Regions from separate parts of the Homo sapiens genome. Here region 2 is linked to region 1. Evidence: promoter capture Hi-C in 16 types of primary human blood cells and fetal thymus (Javierre and others, 2016). All regions are on one chromosome and are shown on one strand. The core of a region is centred on a gene start or on the middle of the fragment in contact, and the rest is flanking DNA. Distances in the headings are between cores, read along the strand shown. Region 1 holds the start of CKMT2 (creatine kinase, mitochondrial 2). Region 2 overlaps MSH3 (mutS homolog 3).

What was found. The method cuts DNA at HindIII sites, captures the fragments that hold promoters and counts their contacts. A CHiCAGO score of 5 or more calls a contact.
Region 2: a contact is called between a fragment that was not itself captured here and the fragment with the promoter of CKMT2 in region 1, in 1 of 17 cell types (endothelial precursors). The highest score is 5.8, in endothelial precursors.

The regions. Positions count from the first base shown.
Region 1 is chr5:81,231,135-81,235,794 of GRCh38, reverse strand. CKMT2 (creatine kinase, mitochondrial 2) reads right to left here and starts at 2,473. Exons shown (of 10, transcript NM_001099735.2): 1 at 2,418-2,473. The HindIII fragment of the contact is 4,095 bases long and covers 1-3,913 here.
Region 2 is chr5:80,759,684-80,764,082 of GRCh38, reverse strand. It overlaps MSH3 (mutS homolog 3), which reads right to left. Exons shown (of 24, transcript NM_002439.5): 13 at 2,405-2,537. Among named protein-coding and RNA genes, the nearest start is that of DHFR, 110 kb to the right of the region's middle. The HindIII fragment of the contact is 1,290 bases long and covers 1,972-3,261 here.

The DNA of each region.
Region 1 (4,660 bases), core at 1,224-3,723:
TACACTGCCCTCCGCATTAAAAAAACAACGACAGCTACATCAAGCCCTTTTGTTAAGTGGCCACAAGCTGTACATTTCTTGGTCCCAGGCAGGTATACTGGGAGTTCAGATCCTGGTCTTAATGCTCTTCTCTGGTTCTGTGACATCCTAGAATGTGAAGAGGAGGCCTTGGGTTCTGTCACTGCCTCCAGCCCGAGCCCCCTGCTCTTCCTGGGCATCCCGGATGGACCATGTCTGCCTTTCTGCTGACTCAGATTTATTTCTGGTCCAGCCATTCACAGCGTCCATGTGTCTGAACTCCTCAGCCAGAGGGCAGGTGGAAGGGCAGGAGGAGGACCACGTGTCAGCTTTCCATCCAGAGAGCCACCCCAAAACAGAGGATGTCCTTGGGCTTGGACCAGCTCCACAGAACACTCTGAACAAATTCTCACGATGCCAGGCTCCTAGGCCGCAGAAAATGCCTGTCTCCTCCCAGTTCTAAGATAGCAAAGGGTGTGCGTTACCTCAAAACCACTTAGTACGCAGCCAACCTTAATGGGCACTCTTGGCATTACTGTTCTACTCAGCAAATAGACAGTCCTAGGCAGGAAGGAGATATTTAGAATCCTACTCTGTAAAACAGAGGCCTTTCCTAGGCCTCCTGTGATGAAGGCATGGGACCGTTACCAGACTTTGTCCCTCAAGGGTAAATTGTTTTCAAGAAAACAGGAAGCTAGGAGCCATCTAGTCCTTTGAAGTGCTGTGAAGTGGGCTGCCTTCTTCCCCGCCCAAGGGAGGGAGTCTCTGAGGCTTCCTGGCAAGGGTTAGTGTGACCTCCAGCAGTCACCTTCAGCATGGGTTGCTGCTGGATTCCTGGCTCTGTGGGCAGGAGCTCCCAGAATGCTTGACACAGACTCTACGTGGCTTCCTTTGGGAAGACAAATGGAGCCTGCTGTAGGCTATGGCAGAGATGGAGGCCCAGGGCCTCTGAGCTAGGGGCAAAGTCAGTCTCCCTCCTGTGTCTGAAACCCCAGGACTCCCCATTCTGTATGGTACTCCCCCCGACCCAACCCACAGTTTCCTTAGGAAAACTGACCTGCCTATGGCCCATTTCCTAATGATATGATTTGGTCATGAGGCTGGCAGAGTCCATGGGGTGCATGTGGCACTCCTGTGCTTTGCTGTGACAGTGCCTTAACCCACAGGCGTGATTAACTCCAAAGTCTGGGGTCTTTGGAAAAGGTGCCTATCAATGCAGAGGAAGTGAAGTGCTCAGACCGCCAAACAAGGCCAAGAGCCTCCCGGAAGAGCCTGCCTGTCAGGAAGTCTCTGGCCACATGCTGTGGCCATGCTCGCCTCTATGAGAGGACAGAGAGAACAGACCAAGGACACGAGTTCAGAACAGAGAAAATGTGAGAGCCGTAGACAGGAAAAGCAGCCCTTCTGGAAACAGCACACTGGTGTACCTAGCGTAACCTTGTCCTGAGGGCCACTAACTGCCCCTCACTTGACTCAGCTGACACTGTGAGGGGTCACGAGCCTGGCAACACTTTCTGGAAGGTCTAAAGGGCAGCACTGAGGAGACCTAAAGGTTTTGGTCTGTTTGTCAAATGTCACTCTTCCTCACATTCGGAGGAGAGCATTTGAAGGCAGACCACTCTAGGGGCAAGAACAGGACTGATTTTAACCCCGGGACAACCAACCAAGCAAGCAAGCTAGTGAAGAACAGGCCTCTGCCCAGGTGAAACACGTGGGGCCAATTCCATAGGTTTTTTTTTTTTTTTTTTTTTTTTTAATTAACCTCCGGTGGGAAAGGTAAGGATGGTGGGGAGGGGAGACGGTTACTTGTCTCATTATCAATGTGTTAGTATTAGTGACGGCAAAACTGAATCTCTAGCAATACTATTTGCCCGTTTAAACTGGGCCTGGCTATTGGGCTTATGAGCAAATAGCTTCTCAAAATTTTAATTTTCTAGTTAGTTCATCCCAAGTCACTGATTTACATGTCTTTTGAGACTGAGACTGCTGGGGAAAAACATTCCCAGAAATGAGTGGATTAGACTCTGTGAATTACAAGGGAAAGACACTTTAAGTTTAAAGTTGTCCCAAACTTAGCGTCAAAATACAGCCTTTAGATTTTTTTTTCCATCGAGAAAAATTCCTGATTCACTACCAAAAAGAGGCCCTGCAGGCAGCGTGCTGATTTGTTCTGCTCCTGGTGCTGAGCTGCCCCCACCTGTGTGCAGGGAGGAGGGGTCGCTTCGGCCAAGGGCGGGAGCTCTGCTGGCTTTAGCGAGTCACCATTGCCTCCTCGCAGTCAGCGTCCTAACGGGGTCCCCGTCTACAGCCCGGCATCCACTCCTCCAAGGCCCTTCACACTGGCTCTAGCCATGACCCCTCTTTGGAGGAATAAAGCAGAGTTTCACGGACTCACCGACCTTGAAGCCGGAGCCTCCCACGTCCTGCTGAGCGCACACAGCCAAGAAGTGTATGCAGGGCGAGCTGGTCGGGCCGGCCTGGAAATCCTCCCTGGCGGGGCGGGGCCAGAGGACCTCACCAATCCCAGCGTAGACCTCCGGGCGCACCGGCCCCCACAGCTGTACCCTTGAAGGCAGGCCCGTGGGCGCTGGGCCCTTTATAGCACCTGCCCTTTCTCTGAAACGTAAAAGGCGGAGCCAGTCTTGCTTCCCAGGCCTGGTCCTGGAGGCTCCTTTGCCAGGGCTCTGGATCTCAGAATGGAAGGGCCAGCAGGTGAAATTGCACATCTGTTGGGGGATTTGTTTCTCTCTTCTCTCAGGTGTACCAGCCTTGGGGCCCTGGTGAGCTCTGGAGGATGAACCCCTCAAGCCAAGGTCGGAGAGGAGGATGTCTCAAGCTGCCTGGCTCCAGCAGCTGACCGGGCCCTGAGCCAGGGGCTGGAGGGACCTCCTTCCAGCGTCTTTGTCTGGGACCTGGATCCAGGGACAATTACAGTCAGGTTTCTGTTCAAGATCAGGCCCCCTGCAGTAGATGGCTAGATCATCTCGCTTTCTGTCCACACCAGCTTAACCCACGGCAGGCCATAGCCCTGCTTAAAAATAGCCCCGCTTGGGATATCCACCGCACGCCGGGAAGGCTGCCTGTAAATAGCAATGACCCAGCAGGATTTTGGACAGCAGCCCTGCCATTTCAAGGGAGCCTGCCTAGGCATCTGGTGACCGTCACGTACTCAGCTTCTGAGGCCACGTGGACATGACCAATTGGTTCCTGTCTCTTCCTTCTCAGAGCCCAGCTCATGCTCAGAGGACTTGATGGAGCAAGGGGTGGAGCCCCAGGAATAACCTTCTACCCAGTGTGGTTCTCCTTCATTCTCTGAAGGAGTTTCCATTTCTTTTAAACACGACCCATGTTTAAAAATATCATCTATTTTACCTTTGCATGGGGTACTGACAGGGAGAGCACGTGAGGGGGCCTTTTGGCGGGATGGGAAGTTTCCTGATTGGGGTGGTTATATAAAGATTGGGACCAATCAAATTAATTTCATAATCCTTTAAGGAGTCAAGACCCACCAGCTTGCATATTCTATCATCAGGGCAGTCTCGGTTTATTCCTTCTCAAAATAGCTCTTTTCCACACACACTTGTTTCAAGTCAGTTCAGGCACCAACTGAAATAAATCCATTGACCCTGAAATAGCCCAGCTCCCAGATCCAGAAAATTATAAGGCTTTTAAAGAGCATGGAATTGTAGATTTAAAGAATGGCAGTTATAGCAAAAACCTCCTTTTCCTCCCCAATTGCCTAATCAACATTTAGGGCCCCCTCCACTCACCCGACCTCAACACCTTATATTTTATAGAGTAAATGTTTATGTTAGTAAGGTCAGAAGAAAAATTGGGTCATTGTTGAGAAAAGAGGGTACCACCCTTCTTTTGGGGGACTGGTCCTCTTCAAGCTTATTATAAAGGTGGTGTGATGGGGATGAAATCTCTACAAGGGACTCACAGTAGAAATTCTGGCTTTCTGGAAATCTTTCAAATGCCATCCCTGTCACATGGCATCTATTCCCTTCTCATCGTTACCAACTCCTTTTGAAGCTCTGGGGCTCTAGCCACACCAGGCTGCCCTGTGGCTGGCTTCTGCCATAAGGGCAGGAACAGAATTGAAGTGTGCGACTGCCATATCATTTGCTTTAAAGGAAAATGTCCTGGACTTATTCTCTTTTCTGTTCCTGAGTCCAGCAGGAGTGTGGCTAGAGCAGGCCCCAGATTTGACCTCGAAGGCAAGGATGACGCCTTGTGGGATGAGCAAGTAATAGGATGAAAGGAACCTGGGTTCCTCTGTCGCACCAGCCTGGATTGCTCATTTCAGAATTGGGCAGGAGGGACCCCTTTCCTTAGTCTATTCTTGTGTCCAGCAACTGTAACTTAATTCCATCAGCTCTAAATGTTGCCACAACTTCATAGAAGTTAAAGTATTTTCATATATAGTAATCCATATAACCACTGCAGTTATTTTAGGGGTAGACAGGAGTCTTATTTCAGAAGCCCCTCCTAGGTGGAGCCTGGTGACTATTAGGCCAGGACTCTACCCTGGCGGCTTCTCCTCTCTCCACCACCCATTCAGGAGCGTTGAGCTGCTGTGCAATGGACTGAGCTGTTCCAGGTAGTAGTGAGTTCTCTGTGCCTGGAGGTATCAAATATA
Region 2 (4,399 bases), core at 1,367-3,866, 470 kb after region 1:
ACTAATCTATAAAACATTGGTTTAAAGCATTCAGCTTTCCTGAAGTTGGTTTGTTACCAGATCATTTCTACTCTTCACCCTTCAAACTAATCTTTAGGTACATTCTTGTGTAAACAAACACTAAAACAGCAACAAGGAATGGCTTCCAAGTGAGTTATAAGTTCCGTTAGTAAACTATATTTTGAAATTCCAAAATAAGTCATTCTTGCACTGCATACCGGCCACTTTTTAAATGAATTAGATTCTGACTTTACTAGAGTTTTGAAACTTTTATAAATACACAAACCCTGTGCAATACAAACATCAAAGTAAAGTTTACAAAAAGGCAGGAAGGTGGAATAGAAATCACAGCCCCATGAACTGATGCTGCCATCTTGATGCCATGGACACTTTGACTTTGTGCATTTGAGTAGCCACTGAAAGATTTTCAGCTTTGCTTCTGTTTTCAAATCTCTGACATCTGTCAGTGAATCCTTTGAAGTAGTTAAGGCAAGGTGCCTGGAGATCTGTTGTTTAAAGAAGGTTAATATGCATCAATTTTCAGGCTCTGAGCCAAGGATAAAAACAACAAATGGTTTGGCACCCACATTGCAACTTCAAAAAGGTCTACCATAAAACTTGCGACTATCAGCACAGCTTCTGCTATTGCCAGCAAAACAATAACATGGTGTACCCAATAATGATGCAATAGGCTCCCCGGCCCCATAACCAACTCATATATCTTTCTCCCCAGGATCAGTATTTCCAGTTCTGGCTTGTGCATTGTTTTCAAATTTAGCTGAGGCATGTAAAACAGTTACGTAAGTCCTCTTGGGCACCTCAAGTATTCTTAGAAGCAGTACTTATCATTCTAGTAAAACTCTGTGGGGGTAAAAGGGGATGAAAAATATAGAAACACTAATGAAAAATTGGTCACAACTAAAATTTAGGCATATTGGCTGGGCGCAGTGGCTCATGCCTGTAATCCCAGCACTTTGGGAGGCCGAGGCGGGTGGATCACCTGAGGTCAGGAGTTCGATACCAGCCTGGCCAATGTGGTGAAACCCCATCTCTGCTAAAAATACAAAAATTAGCCAGGCATAGTGGCGGGTGCCTGTAACCCCAGCTACTCAGGAGGCTGAGACAGAAGAATCGATTAAACCTGGGAGGTAGAGGTTGCAGTGAGCCGAGATCACGCCATTGCACTCCAGCCTGGGTGACGAGAGTAAAAGTCTGTCTCAAAAATAAAATAAAATAAAATAACATAAAATAACATAACATAACATAACATAACATAACATAACATAACATAAAATAAAATAAAAAATTAAAATAAAATAAAATAAAACAAAATAAAACAAAATAAAATAAAAATTTAGGCACATAAAAATGGTTACACAGTAAAATTATTAAATTGGCAAGGAGTTACATTTGGAGGAAAAATAAAATTTGCTTATGAAAAGTGGCAACCAGAAAAAAAAAATGGCAGTCAAGATAACTACATCAAACATGATAGCATCCAAAAGACACAGCCAATGAAAACACAGTCAAGAATCCTGGGTCTAAATACAGATTCTGTTACTAGCAAGTTACTAAACCTCTGAGCATCATCATATTAGCCAAGGTAATTCAAGTGGTTGCAGCATTTTATATATATACATATATATATACACACACATATATAGCATTAGATATAATTTCTTATTAGTAAGAAGGTAATAAAAATAGTAACTTCTCAATGTCATAAAGTTTTGATAAGGAACAAAGAGTATAAGGTATGTGAATGACTTCTGCAAAAAGTAAAACACCATAGTTTATAGTGTTTTATCATTTAAAAATATTAATAATTTTTTTAATTTTAGGCATATTTTGAAGATAACCTAAATTATTTCCCTAACCGTGGAAAATGACTCATTTTTGCTATGACTCAAACTGTAAAGCTTAAGTGATAAAAATCAAAATAATCCTTTACTCACCTTCAATATCCAAGCTTGTTTGCATACTAACTACCACCACAGATGTTATACTAGCAGATTTTTCCATAGTTTAAGAAACAATAAGTTGTTCTAAGATCAAAAGAAATAAGGTTTTTTTTTTCTAAAATAACAAGTCTACATAAATTTCCTATTTTGATAATAGTCTGTACTTTCAGGATGAAACAGGAGAATACCCTATATTATAACAGAAGGGCCTCTATGTTGCTGTAGTTAAGGCACATGAGAAAACTTTATTTTCTACAATGGAAAAATTGGAATAACTCTAATTTGTACTATTAAAATTTCTGAGGATTCAGCTACTCTCGCATGCTATTTGTAAGATTTTACAAAATAAAATAATAATAGAGCTCTCAAAAGTTTTCTTTTAATATATAGTGTCCTCAAGCTGAAGAACACTGTCAGCTTTAATAGATTTCTATCACACTTACTTTTTTGTGATAAATGCTACAGAGTCCCCTCTCTATGTCGGGCAATTTACGTAGATGATTTTCTATCTGACCAAACACACTAGATTCTGAATGGAGAACTTCCGATACAGCATCAAGCCGGGCATTTATTTCCCTGTGAGAAAAGAGTAATAGCAATAATCAGATATGTTAGGAATTCAGAATATAGACATTTCCCACTCTAATGCCCAGGAATGTGACACAGCCACTTATTAGGCACAAAGGAAACTCCTCCTTCATACTGAGATAGTCATGTGGGAAGGACTCCCTGACAAAACTCCAATGGGCGTATGCATTGAGAGGAGGGTGCACTGGGGTGGAGACACAGAAGTTCACGCCTTTGGCAGCAGGGAGGAGCCTGGCCCCTCCTCCTCCTGGGTGGAACCTGGGATTACAGTCTGTGAGGCGGGAAGCATACTAGCAAGATTCTCGTTCTGTCTTGTTGGAGAGTCTTTGTTTCCCTTTTTATTGCTCTTTGCCCAATAAATTCCATTTTTCTCCTCCTTCGAATTGTCTGCGGGCCTAATTTTACATGGCTGTGTGATGAGGACCACCCTCCCCCAACCTCGCTGTCTTTAACTGAACTAAGGAAAAAGTCCTACAACAATATATCTGGTCCTTCCATGCCTCTTATTATTATCTGAATCAAAGAGCAGGTATCATACAAGGAAATTCACTAGCTGGGTTTGACAAAGACAGGCTCACCAAGCAAACACAAAGACTACATTTCCCAGTCTCCCCTGTAGTTAGGTATGGCCATGTACCTCAGTTCTGAAGCATGGGTGGGAATGATGTAAGCCACCTCTAGCCCTGGCCCATAAAAACTTCCTGAATAAGCTTTCACATTCTCCTAATCCCCTTTGCCAGCTAGGCAAGCTTGTGAGCCTCATGGTAACTCCATCAGCCTGAGCCCACAGTGGAGCAGAAAATCCACCATTCCCGGATCTGTTACCAATTGAACTTATATTAGCAAGAAATAAACTTCTAATGTATTTAAGCCACTTAGACGGAGAATTTGTTTGCTGATAGCTTGCATTACCTTGGCTAATATAATAGTTAAACAATGACCAACAAGACGACCTAGTGGTGGTGGTGATGGCTGAACTGACCAACTGTTTGAATGAATTAAATTAAACATATTGACCCTGACCAAAGATTGGGGAGTAGCAATAGAAAGTGCAGAGGATATGACATTCAGATACATAGGAGATCAGTGCTGCGGGATTTTACCAACGGCTACACCTTAAGTGATGACTCAACTTAAAACGGAAATCTGATGGACTAAATGTATCATCAATGAGATGTGGTCCATGAAGTACCTATAAACATCAAAGGCCCACACTAGGTATAATGACCATCTGTAGTATTAAAAACTAAGATAAGTAAACATGTCTGGTGAGTAGTAAGTCCTCAGTAAGGATTTAAAGTGTTTGTAAATGAATGAATGAATAAATAAACAAGTGGATGAAAGAATGAACTGATGTTTTGGGGGAAAGGAGGCATCAGCCACTGAATAAACTTGGTGTCTCTCAAAATTCTGTTGACATCATACACACTGATATGAAAAGCAAATCTTAGATCAGGATCCTGGCTAGATTACAATCAGACTGAGGACTTTCGATTTAGTGAGTGCTTTTGTCTTTATTATCCTTAACTACCTGTGAGATCATGCCTTTTCATAATACAGAGCTTCTATACTAACTTCAGGCCTCATTTTTGTTCCATTTTTCTCTGGCTCATACTCTTGCATGCAGAAGGACCATTTGTTAGTACGATGCAGGAGAGCAAGACAGAGCTTTGTACACACACGGGCTGGCTCTTCCATTCTCAGCAGGGTGGACTCTGTAATCCATCCACCACTCTCCACCTCTACAGCCACTACTATAGTCTAAGTCCAAATTATATTGAAACAGCCTCCTAACTTTCCTCCCCACTTCCATTCCTTTTTCCAACTCATTCTCCACACTGCAGCCTGAG